Linked DNA regions of Homo sapiens: all the other regions are linked to region 3. Evidence: promoter capture Hi-C in 16 types of primary human blood cells and fetal thymus (Javierre and others, 2016). All regions are on one chromosome and are shown on one strand. Each heading gives the region's core, a stretch centred on a gene start or on the middle of the fragment in contact. The rest is flanking DNA. Distances are from core to core; before and after follow the strand shown.

Region 1 (2,700 bases), core at 57-2,556, 1.0 Mb after region 3:
AAACTGTTTCCTATACATTGTAAAAGTTGTTTTCCACCTTTTCTGAGGGTATTAAAATTAATTTTCATTTTCCATGTGATATTCTAATACATAACAGGTGGCAGCATTCAGCAGTATATTTATAAACAGGAACCTGTACAGAAGTGCCCTGGAAGAAGGCCTGCTCTAAATTATCCAGTGTATGGAGAAACGACACAGGTTAGGAGACGTCGCTTTGAACGTGCTATAGGACCTTCTCAAACACACACCATCAGAATTCAATATTCACCTGCCAGACTGGCTTATCAAGACAAAGGTAACATTTTTATTGTGTTAAAAAAATCCTTAAACATAAGTAGATGTAATACAGTTTCTTATACAGTAAGGCTTATGAAATATGGATACTGATCAAACAGCCCTAATAATTTAAGCTTACTGATGAAAAACTCATCCACTTGCCTTAGTGAATAACCAAAGACCAATACTTTCTTTTTCCTTGTGGGTAAGTAAAGCAGTTTGTTCAGGTTTGTTAGTTATAACCAATACTATTTATCAAGTACTTCTTACCAAGAACATTATATACCAGTCTATAACCCTCAATAGTTCTACATCAGAGGGCTAAAACTGAGATTAAAACTCAGATGTCTGGCTCTTTCCAAGATAGTACATTGCCTTTTAATCTGGTATCTTTTATTAAACATGCCACTTACAGGTGTCCTTCATAATGAAGTTAAAGTGAGTATACTGTGGAGAGGACTTCCAAATGTGGTTACCTCAGCTATATCACTGCCCAACATCAGAAAACCTGACGGCTATGATTACTATGCCTTTTCTAAAGGTAAGGTATTAACTAACAGTTTCCCAAGGAGGTGATATCATTTGTGAAAACATGAAGATAAAGTAAAAATGCTGGCTGCAATGATGACTGAATGTGAGAAGTTACACTACGGTACTTATTCTAATTGCTGTGGAAAAGAGTTAAGACTTTTGCTTTAATTTCAATTAAAATGATGGCACTGCAATTCAATTCTGCTCTAACCTTCATGAGATTACGATAAAACATCCAGTTACTAGAGTAAACTTGCTACTGACAATAGTATTTTACTTCTATCATTTGTGGCATTTAACAGATACCTTGTTTGGCACAAGGTTATAATGATTTGCATCACTGCAGAGTCTGTAAGATCAGAAAGAAGTTCCTGAGAAACTAATTTTATTAATTAAATTATATTACTCAGGATGCTTTTCTTTGAAATGCCCAGAAATCTAAGTTATTCTGCCTGTAATTTCATAATATGAATGACATTGGCATGTATTTTTTAAAAGGAATAACCCCAAGTAAATTATTTTTCAAACTTGGTTACTCTTTAATGTTTACTTCATAAAGGAGAGCTGAACCTGATTTTACAAAAAGATGGTGAAATGTCAATCTTTTGAAACATCAAAAAAGCTGAAAAGTCTAGGCAATTGTTTTTCTTTTTGTTATAAAGTTCAAATTAATTAGTAAAAACATCTCTATTAAAATGATAAACATTGTCTTTGAGCATAATAGTCAACATAAGTTATTTTTTAGTTTGGGCATTGTTTTCTTTTTAACTAAAAAAATGTTTTCTCTTCCATTTAGATCAATACTATAACATTGATGTGCCTAGTAGAACAGCAAGAGCAATTACTACTCGTTCTGGGCAGACCTTATCCAAAGTCTGGTACAACTGTCCTTAGACTGATGAGCAAAGGAGGAGTCAACTAATGAAGAAATGAATAATAAATTTTGACACTGAAAAACATTTTATTAATAAAGAATATTGACATGAGTATACCAGTTTATATATAAAAATGTTTTTAAACTTGACAATCATTACACTAAAACAGATTTGATAATCTTATTCACAGTTGTTATTGTTTACAGACCATTTAATTAATATTTCCTCTGTTTATTCCTCCTCTCCCTCCCATTGCATGGCTCACACCTGTAAAAGAAAAAAGAATCAAATTGAATATATCTTTTAAGAATTCAAAACTAGTGTATTCACTTACCCTAGTTCATTATAAAAAATATCTAGGCATTGTGGATATAAAACTGTTGGGTATTCTACAACTTCAATGGAAATTATTACAAGCAGATTAATCCCTCTTTTTGTGACACAAGTACAATCTAAAAGTTATATTGGAAAACATGGAAATATTAAAATTTTACACTTTTACTAGCTAAAACATAATCACAAAGCTTTATCGTGTTGTATAAAAAAATTAACAATATAATGGCAATAGGTAGAGATACAACAAATGAATATAACACTATAACACTTCATATTTTCCAAATCTTAATTTGGATTTAAGGAAGAAATCAATAAATATAAAATATAAGCACATATTTATTATATATCTAAGGTATACAAATCTGTCTACATGAAGTTTACAGATTGGTAAATATCACCTGCTCAACATGTAATTATTTAATAAAACTTTGGAACATTAAAAAAATAAATTGGAGGCTTAAGGATTAGAAAACTTGTTCCATTTATTACTATTCCACATTCTATCATGTAATCCAGTTATGTCAGAAATTCACCTCTCTGTCTGTTAAACTGACGACCACGGACACCTTGTCTCAATGTTGTCTGAAGTCTTACTCGTCTGAAAGGCTTTGGTTGACTACTACTAGTATCTAAGAAAAACATTAAGATAAAAGAAAAGCAAGTGAAAAAATGAGAAAGCATT
Region 2 (2,887 bases), core at 291-2,790, 970 kb after region 3:
ACTTATAAGAATCACCATCAAGGAAGGAAGAACTGGCTATAATCCATGAACAACAAATAGCCATCTTCATCTTTTTTCCCCTTGTAAACAGCTTTCCTATATTTTAAAACTTTCACTTGCTGTTAGAATTGTTTTCTTTATATTATGCCTAAATATTGCTTTATTCAATGACAAAGCAAAATATAAGCAAAAAACCAAATGCTATCTCTCCTGTCCTTAGATACCTCAACCCAGCATTCTAGAATTGCCTCATGGGACAGACCAAGAATCAGCCCAGACAGATTGCACCTGACAGAGGCCCTGGAGAGATGGCAGGGATCTGCCCCATAGGCCTCCGTGTCAGTTTCCCAGTCAGAGATGTTCTGTCAACTGTCAAACATTTTGATTACCTCCGGTTATTCCTTAATTTATTAGGGACACTTATACTTTCAGCCCATACCCTCCTTGTGACTGTCAGCCTCTGAAAGCAGCTCTGACAATATTCCTGTTTCTATATTTTACACATAAGATGTAATGTCATTATTTAGTATCCTTAGCGATAAAGGATTAGAGTCACCCATATGTAGTTTCTAGTTTTGCCCAGTGTCAATCATGACCCAATATGCATATAGCAAAAAGAATCTTCTTTTTAATTTCTATAACCACCATAACAAAGCCATTGAAATCAAAAGCTTTTGTAAATTTATAGGATTTACTAAAGATTGTGTAAAGAACAGGGAAAGGAGTTATATTTCACACCACACAGCACATATCTTAATAAATCTCCATTGCTGTTTACCTAAGTTCCCTCTTCAGGCTTACCATCATTCTATCCAAGATCCCTTCCTCCCTCTCTCTCCTTTCCTTCCAGCCCACCACTCCCTCCCTCTGCTTCCTGCTACCTTTCTTTATTGTGCAGAATCTCTGGGTGCTGGCCACCTTCTACTTAACTGAGAAATTATTAAAATCTTGTTTCACTAAAATCAGTCTTTCTCTTGAAAGGCAAGATGAGGGCAAAATGAATTGTTGCTTTCAAAAAAATAACATTTTATCTAGATCATTACATTGCGTAATACATAGTTTCTTTACTTTCCTGTGTTAAACTAATTTTTTAGATCCAAAAGCAGAACCACAAAGTAGTTCAATTGATTTCCAAAACACCTTAGACAATCCCAATTATAGTCTTACATCAATATAAATTACTCTACTTTTTTCCTTTCTGACATTCCTGCCTGCCTCTACCAGGTATAAGATAGTTGGTTATGTGCAAGCTGTGTCATCTATTTACATCACGACTTATTTTTTTTGGCCTTTCATTTATCTTCTCCTTAAGGCCTCCACATTCCTCTTCTGCAAGAAGCATGGAAGAGATAAAGGGTGTTGGGAAAAAAATTAGTTTTTGGCTACTCTCCTAAACTTTGACCTCCTGTGTTCTTCTGCTAGCATTCATATCTATAGCAATGTGCTTTAAGATTAAAAAAACAAACTAGAGGGCCAGGTGCGGTGAACCCACGCCTGTGATCCCAGCACTTTGGGAGGCCTAGACGGGCGAATCACGAGGTCTCCTGACCATCCCGGATAACACGGTGAAACCCTGTCTCTACTAAAAATACAAAAAATTAGCCGGGCGTGGTGGCGGGCGCCTGTAGTCCCAGCTACTCGGGAGGCTGAGGCAGGAGAATGGCTTGAACCCGGGAGGCGGAGCTTGCAGTGAGCCGAGATGGCGCCACTGCTCTCCAGCCTGGGAGACAGAGCGAGACTCTGTCTCGAAAAAAAAAAAAAAAAACAGAAAAAACGATCAAAGTAAAGAGCAGTTCCTGTTTTCAGTGCTTTGGCGGGCTGATCATAACTTTTCTCAGTTCTGAGAAGTCATTTGTTTCCCAGCACTGTTTCTTACCTTGCTGGGTTTTTCAGCCTACACAGGCCACATCCATCAGTTCAGTCTCGTGCCTATTAATGCATGCTGTCCCAAAGAAGAAGCAGTATGTGTCTCTAAGCACCAAATTCATTTTTAGGAGAAAAAGAATTTTTAATGGCAATCCTACAGTTTCATTAAATTCAATCTGATATATTATCAAACACTTATGTGCCAAGTCCTCTACTAAGTGCTGGGGATACAACATATCCTTGCCTTTGATGAATTTACAATCTAAACTGCAAGATAATTTGTTGATATTTATCAAGAATTATGAAGATGTTCCCACTCCTAAGAATTTATTTTAAAGGTAAAATACAATACAAGCTGCATGAAAAAAAGGAATTTATCCTTATTTTTATTTTGTTTATGTTTGTTTTGCTTTAATCAGAATAAATGTCTGGCACCTAGCTGATACTTAATAAATGTTGATGGTTTGTGGAGGTGTTGTCCAAAGCCTGGTATAGGACTCCTCAAGGCATAGCTGTGACTCTGAGTTTGCCTCTGTAAAGAACAAAGCTTTCTACTATATTACTCTGAGGAGGACTTGGAGGAACAAAGGGTCTGGTCTCTATCAGTGCCCCTCCCATAAATATTTTCTTTGCACAAACAGCAGAATACAAATAAAAGGATAAATAGGTAGCCGTTTATGCTGTGTCTGCTCTCCATCCCCTCAAGAATCTTGAGGTCTAAGTTACACATACAATGAACCCAAGTGCTTGTCAATACCAAAGCCCTTTTCCCCAGTCCAAGGGACAGGCAGAGCAAGTGCTAATATTAGCAGTGACATTTATTCGTTAATTCATTCAAGAACATTTATTGAGCTACCAGAGATATAGAGATACTCTGGAGTCTTGTTTCATAAGCAATCAACCAAAAGAAAGGAGGAAATGTTGAATTTTAATCTTCTGATTGAGTTTTCTGTATCAAGCTTAACATAAGCTCCATGGAGACAATTGTTGCAAATGTCCTGCTTCTTAATCCTTTTGATAG
Region 3 (2,894 bases), core at 16-2,515:
ACCAATAGATATGTCCACTACCTATTGGGGGAAAAAGTAAATGTAGTTCTCAAGTAGTGGTTCAAGTTACCCTAGGTTCAACCCTCAGCCTGATACCTTCCTATCATCAAGAGCTTATAATCAGAGACACTTAACCAAAAGCGTGGAGGGACGGAAAAAGAGCAAATCTTGCCACTGATTTCTTTCATAAAAAAGAAAGAGCGTCCCAGGCCTTCCTCCTCGCGCAGCCAGGCCGGCGCCCACTCCGCAGGCTGCGAGGCGAGGCCCCCAGCACCCGCACACCCCCGCCCCGGATTGGCCAGCCCCGCAGTCACTCAGTACCGACACGTCAGGGCAGCCGCTCCCTCCCTCCTCCCGCCCCCTTCTCCCCGCGCTTGGCAAGAAAAGCGGGCAACGTGGAGCGGGAACAAAGGACCCCGCGGCCCACGGCGATCGGGGACTCCGTGCCACCCTACTCCAGGCCCGGGGCTGGCTGCCCGCCCACACGAGCCGAGTCTCGAGAGCTCTTCCAGAAGAGAATCCCAAACCCCAGGCAAACCCGAGGCGAGGCGTCCGTTCCTGACAGCAAGAACGGGGAGTCCCGCGCCCTCCTTCCGGCGGGTCATCCCCGCCCGCGGCGCCCTAACCCAGGCCCCCCAAAACCCTTCGAACAAAAAACTCTTGTTCCTCCCAGCCTGCCTCACCCGCGCCAGTGTAGCAAAGGGGCTCCAGCCTCCGCGCTCTCCGAGGCGACCGGCGCCCGCTCTCGGCCGCCAACGCAACTTGGCAACCATGGCAGCGCTGGAGCGCGGGCCCAGCGCGGCGCGGGCTTCACGTCCCAGAGGGCGGCGGCGGCCGCTTGGGGCTGCCTCCCCTGATGAGGACACCGCTTCCGCGCCTCCCACCCTCTTCCCATCCGCCGGCGCCATCCCTTCTTCTCGGATTCTAGCCGCGCCGTCTCCCTCATCTGTCGTTCGTAGAACCAGCGCGTATTACCTGGTTCATCTCTGAAGAGATGGAAACATTCATTTCTAGAGCTTCGATGGGAAGCAGGAGGAAGCGGGCGGGAATCGGCCCAACGGAAAGCGCCAGAAGGCGGCGGAAGACGGGAGCGGTCAAGTAGAAGGACGAGGGGCCAGTCCGTGGAGACTGAAAGGAAGGGGGAGCGCCACCGAGAACTCGCGGGAACTCGCTCGCTCGCCGATACAGCCGCGCCGAAGCAGCAGGCGGAGAAACTGCGCCCAGCAGCTCTGAGCGACCGACCTCCACGCGCGACCGGGAGACACTGCCTCCGCCGCCGCCGACCGCTCGCGCCGCACCCCCTCGCACGTCACCACGTGCGCTGCCGCCGCCGACGCCTCCCAGCCCGCTTCCGTCTCGAATCCATCTGCAAATCACAGGCGAGCTCCATAAAGATCCCACTCTAAGCCCCGCCCCACCCGCGGCCCCGCCCACATCCCGCCCCGCCTTCCTCCCTGGTCTACTGGGGTTCCTTCCTTCTCGGTGTAACTAGGTCAGCGCAAGGTGATCCTGAGGAGATAGGCGGCGCTCGGGGGGCGCCCTCGTTCCTCTTATCGCGCCTTTGTCCCTCCCTCCGTTCCTTGCCCCGCACCCTCACTTTCGCCGCCCTGTGCGTTGCCTGTCCCGGAACTGGTTCCCTCAAGCCGCCCTCACCTGTTCTGACTTCCCCTCGAGGCACAATAGCCTGAGAGATCAGACGTGGGAGATTAGATTGCTCGGCGTCAGACCTACTTCTAGGCAACCCCCCCTAGACTGGAGCTGCTCGTCGTGGACATTAGGATCTAGTTGGGCATGAGCCCTTAACTTAAGGGTCGGGGGGGAAGTGGCGGGTGCGGAGAGGAGGCGTGGAGAGTGTGAGGAAGAAGAGAGGCACTCTGAGAAGAAGTCGAACAACTAACCCCTCATTTGGCCTGGTTTGGGTGAGAAGATTGAGTCACTTGGGGAAAAAAATATTGGAGAAGTCAGAGAAGGTGTAAATCAGTGGTGCCACAAACACCAGTTTACTTCCACTTTTCACCCCCCGGGTCTGTTTTGTCTGCGTGCAGCTCTCCTCGTGTCGGAGACGCTGAGTCAGTTCTCTACTGGTCTTGCCCTCTTCCGGAAAAAGAAAACACACCTGAGAAGTGGTAGTTCCTATCCTAACCTACTGGGGCCCTTTATACCAGGTGCCAAACTTCATTATCCACCCCACCACCTTGCCCGGGAGGGAGATCTGTGAAAGCGAAACGTGATTTAAGCTGGGATCTGGCAGCAACTTCGTGGACTCTGAAGGGCACGTGGGAAAGGAGTTTTGATTGAAGGTGAGGGATTTAGTGAGGTAAAATTATATCCAAATTAGAGTTTGGTAAAGGCTTCCAGGTTAATGTCCTGTTAACGCTTATCCTGATTTGTGGAGGACACTTAAGCTGTCTAGGCCTAACCTTGTGTTTGATCACTCACCTTAATTTGTAGACATTCTAGGAGCTCTTTGTCAATGCCTCTTACCATTTTTATCATTAACTATTTATGCTTATAGAAGCAGGAAAAATAAATTGTGGGAGCCTTCATCTGCAATAGGTTTACAACTTTTTTTCTAAAATCTTGAGGCAAGGAGACTTATTCCCCCGCCCCTTTTTTTCTCACAGATTTCTTGTATGTCTCCCTCGCCCCGCCCGCACCCCGTCCCCCCGCCCCCGGACAATTAATTGTAGGAGGAAACAAGAACTAAGATGTCTATTCGAGTGATTTTTTATATCTTTCTTAAGGAGAAAAAGACTGACATTTGACACTGTGCTCTTGTTTTGTCTTGCTGATAATAACTGACAGCAATGTTTACTTTTCTTACAAATGAAACTATCAGGGTACGTACTTTTAAGCTCTTTAATACAATGGGTTTCATCCTTCCAGTGGGAGAG

What was found. Contacts are between HindIII fragments. The CHiCAGO score rates a contact against its expected background, and 5 or more counts as called.
Region 1: a fragment that was not itself captured here is called in contact with the fragment with the promoter of IVNS1ABP in region 3 in 2 of 17 cell types (activated CD4 T cells and total CD4 T cells); the score reaches 5.7 in activated CD4 T cells.
Region 2: a fragment that was not itself captured here is called in contact with the fragment with the promoter of IVNS1ABP in region 3 in 1 of 17 cell types (activated CD4 T cells); the score reaches 5.3 in activated CD4 T cells.

The regions. Positions count from the first base shown.
Region 1 is chr1:186,312,078-186,314,777 of GRCh38, forward strand. It overlaps PRG4 (proteoglycan 4), which reads left to right. Exons shown (of 13, transcript NM_005807.6): 11 at 98-295; 12 at 692-817; 13 at 1,604-2,490. The coding sequence ends at 1,701. TPR (translocated promoter region, nuclear basket protein) reads right to left here. Exons shown (of 51, transcript NM_003292.3): 50 at 2,552-2,647; 51 at 1-1,949. The coding sequence ends at 1,894. Among named protein-coding and RNA genes, the nearest start is that of PRG4, 17 kb to the left of the region's middle. The HindIII fragment of the contact is 1,796 bases long and covers 409-2,204 here.
Region 2 is chr1:186,287,148-186,290,034 of GRCh38, forward strand. No RefSeq gene overlaps it. Among named protein-coding and RNA genes, the nearest start is that of PRG4, 7.7 kb to the right of the region's middle. The HindIII fragment of the contact is 1,742 bases long and covers 670-2,411 here.
Region 3 is chr1:185,315,978-185,318,871 of GRCh38, forward strand. It overlaps IVNS1ABP (influenza virus NS1A binding protein), which reads right to left and starts at 1,266. Exons shown (of 15, transcript NM_006469.5): 1 at 976-1,266. CBSLR (CBS mRNA stabilizing lncRNA) reads left to right here and starts at 1,475. Exons shown (of 4, transcript XR_007066771.1): 1 at 1,475-2,300. RefSeq lists enhancers at 592-1,205, 1,855-1,954, 2,205-2,284 and silencers at 695-754, 1,215-1,524. The HindIII fragment of the contact is 11,176 bases long and covers 1-2,894 here.